Linked DNA regions of Homo sapiens: regions 1, 2 and 4 are each linked to region 3. Evidence: promoter capture Hi-C in 16 types of primary human blood cells and fetal thymus (Javierre and others, 2016). All regions are on one chromosome and are shown on one strand. The core of a region is centred on a gene start or on the middle of the fragment in contact, and the rest is flanking DNA. Distances in the headings are between cores, read along the strand shown. Region 1 overlaps RLF (RLF zinc finger). Region 2 overlaps RLF (RLF zinc finger). Region 3 holds the start of ZFP69B (ZFP69 zinc finger protein B). Region 4 overlaps ZMPSTE24 (zinc metallopeptidase STE24).

Region 1 (4,387 bases), core at 875-3,374, 220 kb after region 3:
TCTTGTGCCTGTAAGTAAAAGAGGATAAAAAAATTATTTTTTTGCATACAGAAAGATTATATAACTTTCACTGATAAGGAATTTTAGCTTGTAAAAACTTTTAGAGTTCCTAAATTTTATCTTAAATCTTTCTTCATGAAAGTTACATTTAGATATTTCTTGTCTCAACATGCAAAGAACTAAATTAGATGCTACAACTACGAACAATGTACATTTACTAGGCACTGTGTATTAAAGCAGTTCCTTACTTCCAAGGAATTTATCTGTACCCCGAATGCATAAACAATAAATGCATGTGAATCCAAAGAAATTCAGGATAAAAAAGGTCACTGGAGGATTCAAAATAGAATGATGTTGAGTAGAGGGGCAGGGTTTAAAATGGCAGCAACAGGAAACACAGGTATAGATGTGAGTCTAAGATTAAATTCAATTTAAGAAATTCTCTTTGGCTGGGCACGGTGGCTCACGCCTGTAATCCCAGCACTTTGGGAGGCCGAGGCAGGTGTATCACCTGAGTTTGAGACCAGCCTGACCAACACGGAGAAACCCCGTCTCTACTAAAAATACAAAATTAGCCAGGTGTGGTGGTGCATGCCTGTAATCCCAGCTACTCGGAGGCTGAGGCAGCAGAATCGCTTGAACCCAGGAGGTGGAGGTTGCAGTTTAGCCAAGATCACACCATTGCACTCCAGCCTGGGCAACAAGAGCAAAACTCCGTCTCAAAAAAAAAAAAAAAAAAAAAAATTCTCTCTATCATGAACACTTGGATTTTTCAAAACTTCAAAGATAAAATAAATGATCCTTTCCATTTCCTCCTGAAAGAATCTGGTAATTTATAGTCACCGTCACAGGTGTACTGAATCTCAGCTTTCCAGGGAAAAAACAGAAATCAGAAATCTTGCTATGGCAGCAGGTTCTCAGAAACTAGTTTAAAATTAGGAAGACCTGGTCATATGTGATAAAAGCTTGGTACATACAAGATAACTCTTTTTATCTGAGAGGCTGAAATAAAATACAAAAATGACATGAGCAAAGAAAAGCAAGATATGTCAGAGTGGCTTAAAACGCACTGCTATGAGCAGAGACTTTAGAATCAGACTTTGACTGCCTTTGAACCCCAGCTTCACAACAAGTGACAAGTTCTCAACCTCTAAACTTCAGTTTCCTTATTGGTAAAATGATAACAGTAATGTTAATAACAGATTTTCCTCCTAAGGTTATAAAGATGAAATAATAACGCTGGCACATTGTAACTATTTAACAGAATACAATGTAAAATAATGGAGTAAATTCCACTGTTTAAATCAGTAAACAATTTGCCAGGCATTTAATTCTGTGTTGGGCATCATTCATTCTAAATGCTGGGAACACAAAGAAATCACTGTCATTGATTTACAGAACCCCTACTACAGCCTAGGCACTTATTTGAAATAAACTTTTTTGCACGTATTATCCTCATTTTATAGACAAAAAACCCCCAACACTCAGAACGTTAAGTTGCCCAATGTCACTAACTAGTGAGCAGAGGAGCAAGGACTTAAAAGCATTTAGGCCGGGCACAGTGGCTCACACCTGTAATCCCAGCACTTTGGGAGGCCGAGGCAGGCACATCACTTGAGGCATGGAGTTTAAGACCAGCAGGGCCAACATGGCAAAACCCCATTTCTAATAAAAATACAAAAAATTAGCCAGGCATGGTGATGCAGGCCCAAAGCCCCAGCTACTTGGGAGGCTGAGGCATCAGAATCCCTTGAACCTGGGAAGCGGAGGTTGCAGTGAGCTGAGATCACGCCACTGCATGCCAGCCTGGGCAACAGAGTGAGACTCCGTCTCAAAAAAAAGAAGATATTTGGCCTGAAGAGTAGAAGAGATGTGGACTGGTAGGTGAAAAGGGAGTGAGTGAGTGTAGAATCCCTTGCAAACTGAGACTCCAACTTTTTTTTCTTTAAAACTAGTCAAGTGTAATAGTGAGAAGGGGGAAAGAGTAGAACAGAGTTCAGTCTGTAACTGACTGTGAACAATCAATTGAGATAACTCCCTACCTTTCAGACGAGCTGAGACTCTAGCTTTTTTGAAAGAGAGGCATTACCTAGCCTGTATCAGCTAGGATCTGGTTCTGTTGTGAGTGGCAGACTTCCCACAACAGTAGTGGCCTAAAGAATATAGAAGTTTCTCCCTCTCATTTGGAATGTAGTCCAAGTAAAACAGGCCATGTTGCTTTAGTGGCTCCACAGGACTAGACCATGGGTCTCTTGACTTATTAGGATGATGTGATAGAAGTTTATCATTTGTAAGTAAGAGCAGAGAGGACTTGGGGAAAGTCAGCTAAATTTTAAAATAATTCAGTTTCTCAACAAGTTACTAACTCCTTTTGGAAGACTGTGAGGTGGACAGCAAAGAATGGCCATTCTTTCTTAAACAGCCTAATCTGGCTGGGATGGTAACATTTGAAAAATCACTAACAACATTTTTCAAAGAAAAGTAACCAGAAATACTATTATATATTCTGAACAGATATGCCAAAAAGTTACTGAAAGGAGTAGTGAATAAATGTGAATCAGGATATGCAATGTGGAGCTGAATTTTGAAGAAATTGGTGGGTCTTAAACTAGGAAGGTGAGGGATCAAGAGTGACTTGGCATACTGTTGCAAGCGCACATAGGATATAGCCAAGTCATTCAATCTTTGCTTTTTTTTTTTTTTTTGAGACAGAGTCTCACTCTGTCGCCCAGGCTGGAGTGCAATGGTGTGATCTCGGCTCACTGCCACCTCTGCCTCCCAAGTTCAAGCAGGTGGGGCAGCTTACACCTATAATCCCAGCACTTTGGAAGGCTGAGGTGGGAGAATTGCTTGAGGCCAGGAGTTCAGAACCAGTCTGGGCAACAAAGCAAGACCCTGTATCTACCACTGCTCCCCGCCAAAAAAGAAAAAGCCAGGTATAGTGGCACACGCCTGCAATCTCAGCTACTCTGGAGGCTGAGACGGGAGGATTGCTTGAGCCAAGGAGTTTGAAGCTGTAATGAGCTATGATCGCACCACTGCACTACAGCCTGGGTGACAGAGCGAGACCTGTCTCAACCAAAAACTGAAAACTAAAGTCAGAGATGGAGGATGTCAGGTTTCAAGCACCAACTTGTTGCACCCTTGCTGCTTGAAAACAGAGGTAAAGACTGAGTGTAGCTTCTAGCACCTGAGAACAGACCCTGATTGGCAGCCAGCCAGAAAACAGAAACCTTAGTCCTACAACCACAGGAACTGAAACCTGTCGATAAGAATAAGCTTTGAAGTGGATTTTCCACAGAGCCTCTGATAGAACTTAGCCTGGCAAACTACATTTTAGCCAATATGATAATCTTAGAAGAGAATCCTGCCACATTGTGCTGGATTTCTGATTTACAAAACTGAACTGATAAAAACGGACATTGTTTTAAGTATTAATTTTTGTGATGTTATTCAACAATAGAAAATTAGTACCTTTATTAAAGATTTAAACAAAACAAAATGTTCTAATGGCCAATTATAAAGTAATTGTTTAAACAGGCAAGTTCTATAGTTACCTTGAAATGTTCTTTTTTTTTTTTTTAAAAAAAAAAAGACCAAGTCTCACTCTGTCACCTAGGCTGGAGTGCAGCAGTGCAATCTTGGCTCACCACAACCTCCGCCTTCCCTGTTCAAGCGATTCTCCTGCCTCAGCCTCCAAAGTAGCTGGGATTACAGGCGCCCGCCACCATGCCCGGCTAATTTTTGTATTTTTAGTAGAGACGGGGTTTCACCAGGTTGGCCAGGCTGGTCTCGAACTCCTGAGCTCAAGTAATCCACCCGCCTTGGCCTCCCAAAGTGCTGGGATTACAGGCTTGAGCCACCGTGCCTGGCCTCTTAAAATGTTCTTAACGTGACAGGAGACACAACTTCATTCACAGTAATTAGAAATAAATATCACCTAACTTGTTTGACCATCAATTTGTTTCTGATTAATTATAGGAAGTCAATCTGGAGAAACAGTCAGATGTGGTCAATTCCATTAATCTTATTAAAACTCATTATTTCTTATCTTCCTTTAAAGGGAATTTCCTGAGAAGTTATCTTCCCACTCATTTCTTTCCTCCAGCTACAGTTAGCAGAGAAGGCATAAAGTACTCACTTCAGTTTGTATAACTCTAATGAGGCAAAATAAATGCTGCTGCGTTTTAGCTATGACACCAAACTGACGACAGCGCTCCAAAAAAGTATCTAAAGAAGGGTCAATTCTTCTTTGCAGTTTACTCCAAAAAAGAGTCAGTTCCCTATAAAAAAAGAAGATCATGGTAAAACATTTAAAGTAACTGGTATTTGCTGCCCTGCCCCCGGCAACCCAATTTTTTGATCTGTAGAAAGCTGACAGTAGAGA
Region 2 (4,291 bases), core at 1,059-3,558, 250 kb after region 3:
GTGAGGGAGGCTGGCCTTAGCTAGGAGAACAGATATAATTTATCTCTAGTAACAGAAGAGAAGATGTACATTCATAGATGCTGGTAGATGAATAGATGTTTCAGAGACAGAGCTTATGAAAATTCTCTTATTTATCTTCTCAGCGCTTCAATTTTTTTCAGAGAAATAGGGAGTTAAGTTCAGCAACAGAGAGTGAAACAGGGCAGAAAGTATTACAGTATAGTTTTGAAGAATAAGAAAAAACTATGCAACTATCTAAGAGTGGGAGAATGAATGGGCTAAAGAAATATAGGCTGGGTGCAGTGAGTGGCTCACACCTGTAATCCCAGCACTTTGGGAGGCTGAGGTGGACGGATCATTTGACCCTGGGAGTTCGAGACCAGCCTGGGCAACATGGCAAGACCCTGTCTCTCCAAAAAAATAAAAAATAAATAAAAAATAAATTAATCGGGAATGGTGGCATGTTTCTGTGGTCCTAGCTACTCCAGGGGCTGAGGTGGGAAGATCACCTGAGCCCAGGATTTTGAGGCTGCAGTGAGCAGTGTGCGCCACCACACTCTAGCCTGGAGTAAAATTAGCTGGCAGATTTTTCTCCATGTAAATTTGGCCCCATGAGTGCAGGTAAACACATAGAGTAGGTGAAGATTTAGGGATAATCAGGATACTGGTAGTCAAACAAGTACAATTAAGAGAGAGACCAGTGGCCGGGAGCAGTGGCTCACGCCTGTAATCCCAGCACTTTGGGAGGCCGAGGCGTGTGGATCATGAGGTCAGGAGTTCAAGACCAGCCTGGCCAAGATGGTGAAACCCCATCTCTACAAAAATACAAAAAAATTAGCCAGGCGTGGTGGTGGGCGACTGTAATCCCAGCTACTCGGGAGGCTGAGGCAGGAGAATTGCTTGAACCCAGGAGCAAAGATCGCGCCACTACACTCTAGCCTGGGCAACAGAGCGAGACTCTGTCAAAAAAAAAAAAAAAAAAGAGAGAGGACCTCTCGCTCTTTGAGAGTGATAATGATGATCTGACAATGACAAAGCAGAGTTAAATAGGGAAGTGAATACATAAGGGGGATAAGGGAAAATGAAAAGGTGACAAGATCAATAGATCTTGATTGATCCTGGTGGAGACTGTATATTAAAGGGAGTAAGGTAGAAAGATAGACAATTGTATTTGGAGAGTAAGATATTACAAGTAAAAGTTTCAGAATTACTACAGCATAAAACCAGATCCTTGGGACTACTACATCTAATAAAAAATTTCAGTTCAGAGTAAGAATCCATATGTCAGAATTGAATGGCAGATAAGAGGATTAAAGGTAGATGATGAAATAAAGCTTAAGAATCTCTAGTTTTTTTCTGTATAATGTCAAAAACCATTAGAGAAGTCTAACTCCAAATTTAAGAAACATAATAATTGAGGTTTTTTTTTTTTAAAGGATGCAATCTGATACATAAAATAGTTGTTGTTTTTTTGAGATGGAGTCTCACTCTTGTCACCCAGGCTGGAGTGCAGTGGCACGATCTCGATGCACTGCAACCTCCACCTCCCGGGTTCAAGCGATTTTCCTGCCTCAGCCTCCTGAGTACCTGGGATTACAGGCGCCCACCACCATGCCTGGCTAATGTTTGTACTTTTAGTAGTACAAGCTGAAGCAGGTGGATCAGTTGAAGTCAGGAGTTCAAGACCAGCTTGGCCAACATGGTGAAACCCCGTCTCTACTAAAAAGTACAAAAAGTAGCCAGGCATGGTGGCGCATGCCTTTAGTCCCAGCTACTTGGGAGGCTGAGGCACAAGAATCACTTGAACCCGGGAGGCAGAGGCTGCAGTGAGCCGAAATTGCACCACTGCACTCCTGCCTGGGTGACAGAGCAAGACCTTGTCTCAAAAAAAAAAAAAAAAAAAAAAAGACTCAACCCTTATTTTCCATGATATCCAGTTTGGCCACTTAATTGTTCAGGATGTAGTCATGGAATCTAGAGTCCTATACTTTTCTGCTTACAAAATTAAATATATAAAGTAACTTAAGCTAAAATTAAGTGCCATTTTCTTTAGTTTATCCCTTGATGCCATGATTAACAACTTCTGCATTCCCCAAACATGGAGACGTCATTACTTTAAAAAGAAAAAACAACTTTCACATTTAAAGATTTCACAGCAAATCATCACCCAAATAAGTAAACATGCCTCTGTATATTCTTTAGTTATCTACTTTTCAAATTCACTCTAAAATATTACATTCTATCTGTCGAGCAGTTAAATATACAATTAAAATCATACATTTTGGTAGCCTGAAAAAAATGAATCTTGGTTTTCATTCTAAAGGGAAAAAATAAACCATGCAATATATATATAAATCTATTAAATTAATACCAAGTTTGAATGACAACAATTATTTACTCACCTCCTTAATAGCATCTTCATTAGGGAGCATAGAACATAAACATGTGATATAGGCTTGCTGAAAAGATGACACATTTGAAATTTCTTTAGATTCTGCACATAGTTTTGATAAAGCAGTAGCCTGGGGGATGCAGTTAGATTTCAACAAATGTTTTATTCGCATTTGCAGAAAGGAAGGTCCTTCTTGTGCAATCAATTTATTGACTAGAAAAAATGAAAAATAAAACAGTTTGACAACATACCACATAACATGTCAGACTTGCTAAGATGAAAGTTTGAGATCTTTTTATTTGATTTTTAGTTAATAAAAATTTAGTTTATATAAATGAGAAGTTTACTCTGGTCTCAATATTCATCTAATAGAGATGAGAGGAAAATTAAGAAATAGTGAAATGAACTATAAGCATAAATGCAAGAAATGAAGCAAGTAACCTATGTAATATTAACAACTATCAACTGAATGCTTACGAGACATCAAGTTTTAAGCTGCATATTTTTATATACCTCTCATTTATTCTTCACACCACCACCAAGGCAAGTATTATTATCCCCAGTCTAAGGTTAGGAAAATTAATATTCACAGAAGTTAGGTAACTTGCCAAGGATTCCAAAGCCAGTGGTGCTCTTTCCTCTAAACCAGGCATTTCTCAAAGTGTGTTCCACCGACCAAAAGACCTGAGAGATAGTCCTAGAAAAAAAAAGGATTCCTTGGTCAAATCTCTGAACAGTCCTGCAATAAAGAAAACTGTTCACTTTTATTTAAAAACCCAATGTTTCCTAAACTGATTTGACCAGAGAACCCTTTTATACATATTAGTAACCTGTAAAACATGTGTTCCTGGTTCAGTACACACTTTGGAAAATGCTACTCTGAAAGCTTCAGAAGTACTGAAGCTCAGTACTTCTGAGCTGTACTGAATATTAGGCACTTGGCATTGACTGTACAGTGCTCTGGATGAGCCCTCAAATTTTTTTTTTTTTTTTTTTTTTGAGATGAAGTCTTGCTCTGTCACCCAGGCTGGAGTGCCGTGGCGCGATCTTGGCTCACTGCAAGCTCCGCCTCCCGGGTTCACGCCATTCTCCTGCCTCAGCCTCCCGAGTAGCTGGGACTACAGGTGCCCGCCACCATGCCCGGCTAATTTATTGTATTTTTAGTAGAGACGGGGTTTCACCGTTGTTAGCCAGGATGGTCTCGATCTCCTGACCTCATGATCCACCCGCCTTGGCCTCCCAAAGTGCTGGGATTACAGGCATGAGCCACCGCACCCGGCCGAGCCCTCAATTTTTGAATAGTAAATATCCAACAAGTATGTGACATCACTACATAGTATTACTTAAAGAATAGAGGTGAGAATATTGCATGTCAAGCCAAGTGGTGAGTAAACAAACTGCTTTAGGTGGTTAATCTAAAACAGTATCTCTCAGACTTGAAAGTGCCTAGATCACCTAGGGAGCTTATTAAAATGCAGATTCTGATTTATTAGGTCTGGGACCTGAAATTTTGCTTTTCTCACAAGCTCCCAGGTTGCGGGGGGGGGGGGGGGGGTGTGTGTGTGTGTGAGGTGTGGGGGGGGTGTGTGTGTTTGTGTGTGTAGAGTAGCAATGGTTTATACTAAGGATAAACCACTGGGGTGTGTGTGTGTAGAGTAGCAATGGTTTATACTAAGGATAAACCAGTGTGTGTGTGTGTGTGTGTGTGTGTGTGTGTGTGTGTGTGTGTGTGTGTGTGTGTGTGTGTGTGTGTGTGTAGAGTAGCAATGGTTTATACTAAGGATAAACCACTGGCCCAATTTTAACTACATATGAGAATCAATCGTAACATTATCCTTTAAAATAATATAAAGAAAAACATATATATATATATAATCACAGATTTCAAAAGGACAGAAA
Region 3 (3,906 bases), core at 173-2,672:
CTCAAGCAATCCGCCCACCTTGGCTTCCCAAATTGCTGGGATTACAGGCATGAGCCACCACACCTGGCCTCTTTCTACCTTCATTATTGGCACGCATTTTCTGTAAAAAGCTTTCCCTCACCAACTGAAGAGGATCTAAAAGGCAAGGTAAATGCACATTCATTCCCATAATAACCTATTTTTCAAAGTAAGGAATCAGTGTATTAATTACCTCCAATGTTTGCAAATGAATTCCCCCCCCCCCACGTCTTTCTCTATTTTAAGTGTCAAGGTGATCATGTGGAATTTTACTTATTCAAGGTGTTACCATCAGTTTGGATACTTAAGCTTTCCCAAATCTGTCGAGTGAGAGACCCTTAAACCTGGCCTCTTTTGACACATATCCATAGTCTTTAAGCTCTTCCTTGCTTTCTAGCACAAGTTACTCCAGGCTCACCTGGTACTTCCCCTGCTGCTTCTCTTTCTGACCTAGCCACCAAGTTCCTGTGTGACCCTGGGCAGGCCTCCCATTTGATTTACATTTCCCCACTGTTAGAATAAGAAAAATCAGGTTAAGTCCATCCTGCCCCACATGGCCATGGGAAAGATGAAAATAAATAATATACATAACCATGACACTGAAATACTGGTCCTAGGCTGAAAAGACCACCACTACTTAGGAAAACCCCAGACTAGGAGCCACAATCAACAACTCCGGAAACCCTCCACCCACTCGTCTCCCTAAGAGATGCTTCCACTCAAGTGACTCATTCCTTCTCACACTAGAGGGGACTGCTTTTCCTCCCTCCCACCCATCAGTTTATTCTTACCTTCTGCTTTAAACATCTTAGTCACATCCTCCCACAGGGCCACCCGCTCCGTGGCCGCCTTTGGATGACGCAACTTCACCCAGGTGCTGGCCTCGGTGGGCAGGGTGATCAGGAGCTGCTGCAGCATGACGGCGTCCGCACTCCTTTCTGAGGACCCTCTGTCTTAGCCCATAGGGCTTGTCCACCTCTGATGAGGAAATTGCTGGAAGCTCTGACAGGAGGCTTCCCAATTGTACCGATCTCCTTAATCGCCGACTCCTACTCCTCAATGTCCTCTCTCAGGAACCCAGGGAACATACAGTATCAAAATCCGAGATCTGGACTTGTGTCTATCATCGGCTCTCAGGGCGTATCTCCCAACTTGAGCTCCATCTGTCTCCTTGGCCAGCAGCTGGAGGCGCCAAGTATTTACTCTCAGCAGCCCCTGCAGATGCTGAGCAGAAGACATTAGAATCAGCAAAGGACTAAGGAGGCTCAGTCATAGGGCAGAACGCTAGAACATATATGGATCACTGTAAAATGTTTCCAAAAGATACACGGAGACGGTGGGCAGACACAGCCCACAAAATTCAAAGCACCGCGCACATGTCAGGAAGCACAAAGAGACGAATACAACCCAATTCTTTGTTTGGGGCAGTAATTATGTGTAAAGTAGCCGGGGATTTGGAATCCCAGCTCTTTCACTAGTCGGCTGTAGCAAACCGCGAAACCGCTAGACCCCGCCTCCTCCTCCCCAAATGAGAGGCTAAGTCCTCCCCACAAAGCAAAACGCCCCCGGCCCTAGCCTCCCAGCCTTTGTCTGAGCACGACTCCGGGGCTGCGGAGAGCACCGCGCGCGACAGGGTGGCCGCGGGCGGAACTCGCGCTTCCCGGCTCGCCCAGCTCCCCAAGCCCGGGACAGCCACCCGCTCACCCTCTCCCCGCTGGGCCGGCACGCCCCCGCCTTCCCACCGCTGCAGCCGGGTTCCGGCACTGCGCGGCCAAGCTCCCACGTAGCGCTGCGGCGGGCAGTCGGGGCCCAGTGCGCCTGCGCAGCGGCTGGCTAGAGCATGGTTCCCAGCGTCCTCCCGGGGAGCCGCTCCGCCAGCGCAGACGCCCCCACCGGTGCGCGCCGGGTTGGCTGCGTTCAGGGGCTCCCAGTATCCGATCCCTGCGAGCATCATCAGCCTGGCTCCTGCGGGAGGAGATGGAGCCTGCGTTCTTGGGCCCCAGACTCTGATGAAGAACAACCATCTTTCCTCCGCTGGGAAAATGCACGTGAACGTTAGGGTGAGCCTTTGAAACCCGTGACAAAAGGGAGCCATCGGCATCACGTTTTTTGGTGAAACGACACTGGTGTAAAATAATCCATAGCACTTTCCCTAAATATTATGTACATGCCAGTTATTTATTCTCAGCAGACAGTTGAATGGATTCCGGTATATTGTTAAAAGAATACCACAACAGTTTTCTCTTCTAGTATTCAATAAAAGTTCTCATGTTTATTGCTTACCTTGTATTTCTGAAATGCCAGAAAATACACAAAAACAAAAAAATTATTGCCTGTAATTTCAGCAAGCAGCGGTAACCTTGCTAACAGTTGGTGTACAACCTTTCCTGCACACACACAACGTATTTCATGCATTGTTATATATTTTCCACAAAAGCGATTATACTGTAATGCTGTTTTATTGCTGAGTTTTCTCCCTCCAACAAAATTTGAGTACATCACTCCAAATACATTTCTACATCAACAGTTTACAAAAACAACAAATGAGGAAATAGAATACAATTATAGTACTTGCTAGCTGTTATGAACCGAATGTTTGGATTCCCCAAAATTTATCTTGAAGCCCTAACCTCCATTGTATTTGGAGAGTATTTAGAGATAAGGCCTTTATGGAAGTAATTAAGGTTAGAATATAGTCCTAGTCAGAAACGAACCCAACTCGACCTTACTTGGGGCTTCTAGTCTCCACACTGAGAAAATAAATTTCCGGTTTTTTGTTTGTTTGTTTGTTTGTTTTTTTGAGATGGAGTCTCGCACTGTCCGCAGGGCTGGACTGCAGTGGCGTGACCTCGGTTCACTGCAACCTTCGCCTCCTGGCTTAAAGCGATTCTCCTGCCTCAGCCTCCCAAGTGGCTAGGATTACAGGCGCCCGCCACGACGCCCAGCTAATTTTTTGTATTTTTAGTACAGACGGGGTTCCACTATGTTGGCCAGGCTGGTCTCAAACTCCTGACCTCGGTGTCTGCCCGCCTCGGCCTCCCAAAGTGCTGGGATTACAGGCATGAGCCACTGCGCCCGGCCAGATATCCGTGGTTTAAGCCACCCAGTCAATGGTATTTTGTTACAGCAGCCCAAGCTGATGAATACACTAGCATATAATAGTTACAGAATATGAGGCTCTGTCCTAAGTGCCTTTCATATTTTAACTTATTTTGTCATCACAGAAACCACTGGAAGTAAGTACTATTATTATTCCCACTTTACAGATAAGAAAACTGAGATTTAGAGAAGTTGAATAACTTGCCAAGATCATGTGGCTTACAAGTGGTGAACACAGGCAGTCTATGTTCCTATCTGCTACTCAACAAAAATACAGCATGAAATACAATAAAATGTTAATGGTAGAATCTAAGTAGTGGTATAGGGATGCCGTAATGTAAAATTCTTTCAATTTTTCTGTATATGTATATGTTTTCATAATAAAATATCAGAAAAATACAGCTAAGAATAAACAAGAATTATGCAGGAAATTATAAATAAAACTCCAAATTTTTTGTTTAAATGGTGAGAATAGTGATACAACACATTCACGAGTTGAAATAGAACATTCTAAGTATGTCACTCTTCCTCCAGTTCACATAAACTGTGATGCATCCCAATCAAAATTTCAACTTTTTCGGCCGGACATGGTGGCTCACACCTGTAATCCCAGCACTTTAGGAGGCCAAGGCGGGTGGATCACCTGAGCTCAGGAGTTCGAGACCAGCGTGGTCAACATGGCGAAACCTCATCTCTACTAAAAATACAAAAATTAGTTGGGTGTGGTGGTGTGTGTCTGTAATCCCAGCTACTCAGGAGGCTGAGGCAAAAGAATCGCTTGAACCCAAG
Region 4 (4,391 bases), core at 1,589-4,088, 170 kb after region 3:
AGCTGAGATCACGCCATTGCACTCCAGCCTAGGAGACAGAGCAAGACTCCATCTCAAAATAATAATAATAATAATAATAATAATAAATTAGCCAGGCATGGTGGTGCATGCCTGTAATCCCAGCTACTCAGGAGGCTGAGGCATGAGAACTGCTTGAAACTGGGAGGCGTAGTCTGTAGTGAGCCAAGATCACGCCACTGTACTCCAACCTAGGTGAAAAAGTGAGACTCCATCTCAAAAAAAAAAAAAAAAGGGATGATGTTTTGACATTGGAAAATGATTAGGTGAAGAAAGTAAGACACAAACTAAAAATATATAGTATGATTCTAATTATGAAACAATGTGAATGTGTATATAAAAATATACAAATATAAAAAGTAGACTGAAAGTATATACAAATGTTAACAGTAGTTATTATTATTTATTTTAGATGGAGTTTCACTCTTGTTGCCCAAGCTGGAGTGCAACGGCACGATCTCGGCTCACGGCAACCTCCACCTCCTGGGTTCAAGTGATTCTTGTGCTTCAGCCTCCTGAGTAGCTGGGATTACAGGCGCATGCCACCACACCCGGCTAATTTTTGTATTTTTAGTAGAGACAGGGTTTCACCATGTGAGTCAGGCTGGTCTCGAACTCCTGACTGCAGGTGATCCACCTGCCTTGGCCTCCCAAAGTGCTGGGATTACAGGCATGAGCCGCTGTGTGGGGCCTAGTCCCATTCTCTTACTAAGGAGCAAATAACCAAGGATTTACCAGATATATGAGGTAAGCTGTTAACACAGAAGATCTGATCCACAAAAAAAGCAACATGAAATAAATTATATAAAGAGAAAGTTTAGAAAATTAAGACATTGCACCTAAGAAAAAGTAACGAAATGCTGTAAATTGGAAAATTCAGATAAAAAAATTATTAGAAATCCAAGCTGAAGGCCAGGCATGGTGACTCAAGCCTGTAATGCCAGCACTCTGGGAGGCTGAGGCAGGTGGATCACGAGGTCAGGAGTTTGAGACCAGCCTGGCCAACATGGTGAAACCCCGTCTCTACTAAAGATACCAAAAAAAAAAAAAAAAAAAAAATTAGCTGGGCATGCTGGTGCACACCTGTAATCCCAGCTACTCAGGAGGCTGAGGCAGGAGAATTGCTTGAACCCGGGAGGAGGTTGCAATGAGCTGAGATCGCGCCACTGCACTCCAGCCTGGGCGAGAGGGCAAGACTACATCTCAAAAAAAAAAAAAAAAAGAAAGAAAGTTCAATACAATAAAGGATTGGAAGATGATGAGGGAATTCTAGAAAGCAGAAAGAGATATATTTAAAATGGAAAAGAGGGTTAAAAAGATAGGAGAGTTCAGTATAACAAATCCAGCACTCGAGTAAGAGGAGCCCTGAAAACACAGAATTTAAAAAATGGAGAGGAGAAAAATCAACAAAATAATTTCAGAAAATTTCTTACAACCATAGGACCTCGATTTCCAGAATAAAAGGGCCTAATGCATATATTACAGTGGATGAAAACAGTGTGATGCATATAACATGGTAGATGAAAACAGATCCCCATCAAGGTATGTGAAATTTTAGAACACTGAAACAGAGAAAGATCTAACAAACTTCCAGAAAAGCAAACAAAAACAAAAACAAAAAAAGTAACAAAAGGATCAGCAATTTTTTTTTTTTTTTAAGACAGGGTCTCACTTTGTCACCCAGGCTGGAGTGCAGAGGCAGGATCTCAGTTCACTGTAACCTCCACCTCCCAGGTTCAAGCAACTCTTGTGCCTCAGCCTCCTGAGTACTGGGATTACAGGCGTGCGCTATCATGCCCAACTAATTTTTGTATTTTTTTGTAGAGACAGGGGTTTCGTCATGTTGGCCAGGCTGGTCTCGAACTCCTGGCCTCAAGTTATCTGCCTGTCTTGGCCTTCCAAAGTGCTGGGATTACAGGTATGGGCCACAGTGCCTGACCATAAGCAGATTAACTTTCTAAACTTGCATGATTCTCTAGTGTTATCACTGGGTTATTCTTTCTGGACTTCAGTTTTCCTATTTATAAGATGACTTTAAGATGTCTTCTAATCCCTTCACAGAATTTTATTTCATCTACGTATTTATAACAGGCTAGGTACTTTACTAGAACCTGTTTTTAGTGTCAAAACAGATGCTCAGATGCTAATCATTTTCTGGTACTCTCTACATTTGGGTAGAGAGTACAAGGTATTTCACACATATTATTTCATTTAATCTTCAAAACCCTAAAATGTAGGTATCTTTAGCCTAGTATTTCTCAACCAGGGGAGACTCGGCCCCACCGCTACCTTTAGGGGACATCTGGCAATATTCTGAGACATTTTTGTTGTTACAATTTGTAGAGGTTGTAGGGGAAATGGCCCCTAGTGGGGAGAGACCAGGGATGCTGCTAAACATCCTGTGATGCACAAGATACCTCCCACAACAAAAAAATTATCTGGCTCAAAAAAATAGCGTGGGGCTTGAGAAACCCTACTGGCCTCATCTTTCAGTTAAGAAATCAAAGATTTAGAAAGCTTGGCGGGGTGCGGTGGCACACGCCTATAATCCCAGCACTTTGGGAGGCCAAGGCAGGCGGGTAACTTGAGGCCAGCAGTTCGACCAGCCTGGAAAACATAACAAGACCTCATCTCAAAATAAATAAATACATAAATAAATGAAAGCTTAACTTACTTGCACAGAGTTACACAGACAGTGAGTGAACAGGCATCTAAAATCATCTCTGTATGACACCAAAGGCAATGGCACATTCCATCACACATACAAATACTGATGATCATTTCTGACAGTTTGTATTGTTTCTTATCATTGTCCCCTCTCCCCCATTTAGTCTTGATACTTTAAATTCTGCTAATCAATATCAGTCAATCTTATCCACGAAAAGGATTCAGAAGCAGCTTTCTCAGACTCTCATGTCAGATTTGAGAAATGTCTTTTCTTGTGCTCCAGTTACTATATCTAGAATCTAAAGCTTGACAGTAGCAATTCACGTATTGTACTGTGATTGCATGACTATTTCCCCTTTAGACTGTAAGCTTAAGAGGAAGGTATTCCTTTTTATTTTTGTGTACCTAGTGCCAAGTAAAGTCTCTCAGCACAGAGTATACATTTCATAAATGGGTGTTAAACAAATAAAACAGACTAAATTACACAACGTATCCAAGGATACAAAGCTACTAAATGACAGAACCAGGATTCAAATCCAAGTCTCTCCATTGCCAAAGCCTACAATTACTGTCTTAATAAAGCTAAAAATTAGATGTTTATCTTCTCTTTATCTTGCTTGTGGGAATTCTTTGATCATAAACACATAAGAAATTATATATATATATACACACACATATATATATATACACACAAGTTCCTGTTTTAAAGATAGCTTATAATCATATGAATTTTCTTATAAGAGCTTCCAATTTTAATATCCACATTCTATAAAAGCTTGCAAGGTAGTTAGCATGTAATAATAGTGGTGATCTCTCCTAAATACCAGAACTATAAAGGAGCCATGGTTTTCATCTGATAGTCTCCCTGAATTCAACACTCACTGCCTAGAAATTGATGTTATTTTGAGTTGTCACAGGAACTGTGTATAAAAACTAAGGTAGAATCTCTTAGGAAAAAATAACTCACTTTAACTTTAGCTTTTATTTCTTCACTGTTCCCTTCTTCCTCATTGCGGGGTTCCATGCCAGAATCCTCCTGGATGTCTTTGTTTAGTACAGAGTACTCTTCTAGTAGAGTGTCAAACAAAACTATTCGCTTGTTCTTGAAGAAGCCATAAAAATAAGCATTGCTGTGGGAAGAGCGTTTAGATCCTAAGGAAAAGACAGTTCAAAGCATGGAATATAATTAAAAAGTTTGGGGTCCTTTGGAGAGACTCCTAGAAATTGAATTACTGGAAAGGACATTAACATTTTCAAATCATTTAATATGTGAAGAAAAATCATATCAACATAATTCACCACCAGCAGTGGAGAGTGTCTGTTTTTTGCCAATAAATGTGCTCATCACAGCTTTATAGCAGTAAGTAAATAAGTAAAGCCTAAACATCCAACAGTTACAAATGATTCAATTATAGTAAAACTATGAAATGGAATTTTAAGCTGCCAGAAAAAAATTATACTTCCAAAGAATTTTAACAAGAAAAAGCTCACCAATATATTGTGAAGGATACAAAACTTCACGTATATCAGGTTCCATTATCGTCAAGAAAAAATGTGCATGTATTAGGTTGGTGCAAAAGTAATTGCGGTTTTTGCATTGTTGAAATTTGCTGTTTGATATTGGAATACATTCTTAAATAAATATGGTTATGTTATACATCATTTTAATGCACATTTCTCACTTTATGTTTTTTGCTAATGACATT

The links. Contacts are between HindIII fragments. The CHiCAGO score rates a contact against its expected background, and 5 or more counts as called.
Region 1: a fragment that was not itself captured here is called in contact with the fragment with the promoter of ZFP69B in region 3 in 2 of 17 cell types (neutrophils and naive B cells); the score reaches 5.4 in neutrophils.
Region 2: a contact is called between a fragment that was not itself captured here and the fragment with the promoter of ZFP69B in region 3, in 1 of 17 cell types (total B cells). The highest score is 6.2, in total B cells.
Region 4: a fragment that was not itself captured here is called in contact with the fragment with the promoter of ZFP69B in region 3 in 10 of 17 cell types (naive B cells, total B cells, total CD4 T cells and 7 more); the score reaches 7.5 in naive B cells.

What each region holds. Positions count from the first base shown.
Region 1 is chr1:40,231,413-40,235,799 of GRCh38, reverse strand. RLF (RLF zinc finger) reads right to left here. Exons shown (of 8, transcript NM_012421.4): 7 at 4,142-4,283; 8 at 1-8. Among named protein-coding and RNA genes, the nearest start is that of TMCO2, 14 kb to the left of the region's middle. The HindIII fragment of the contact is 2,314 bases long and covers 968-3,281 here.
Region 2 is chr1:40,200,726-40,205,016 of GRCh38, reverse strand. RLF (RLF zinc finger) reads right to left here. Exons shown (of 8, transcript NM_012421.4): 5 at 2,403-2,605. Among named protein-coding and RNA genes, the nearest start is that of RLF, 41 kb to the right of the region's middle. The HindIII fragment of the contact is 1,944 bases long and covers 1,337-3,280 here.
Region 3 is chr1:40,447,992-40,451,897 of GRCh38, reverse strand. It overlaps ZFP69B (ZFP69 zinc finger protein B), which reads right to left and starts at 1,422. Exons shown (of 5, transcript NM_023070.3): 1 at 810-1,422. The coding sequence starts at 936. ZFP69B-DT (ZFP69B divergent transcript) reads left to right here and starts at 1,859. Exons shown (of 5, transcript NR_198977.1): 1 at 1,859-2,078. RefSeq lists an enhancer at 129-1,328 and a silencer at 1,544-1,803. The HindIII fragment of the contact is 15,908 bases long and covers 330-3,906 here.
Region 4 is chr1:40,280,789-40,285,179 of GRCh38, reverse strand. It overlaps ZMPSTE24 (zinc metallopeptidase STE24), which reads right to left. Exons shown (of 10, transcript NM_005857.5): 7 at 3,653-3,837. Among named protein-coding and RNA genes, the nearest start is that of ZMPSTE24, 25 kb to the right of the region's middle. The HindIII fragment of the contact is 308 bases long and covers 2,685-2,992 here.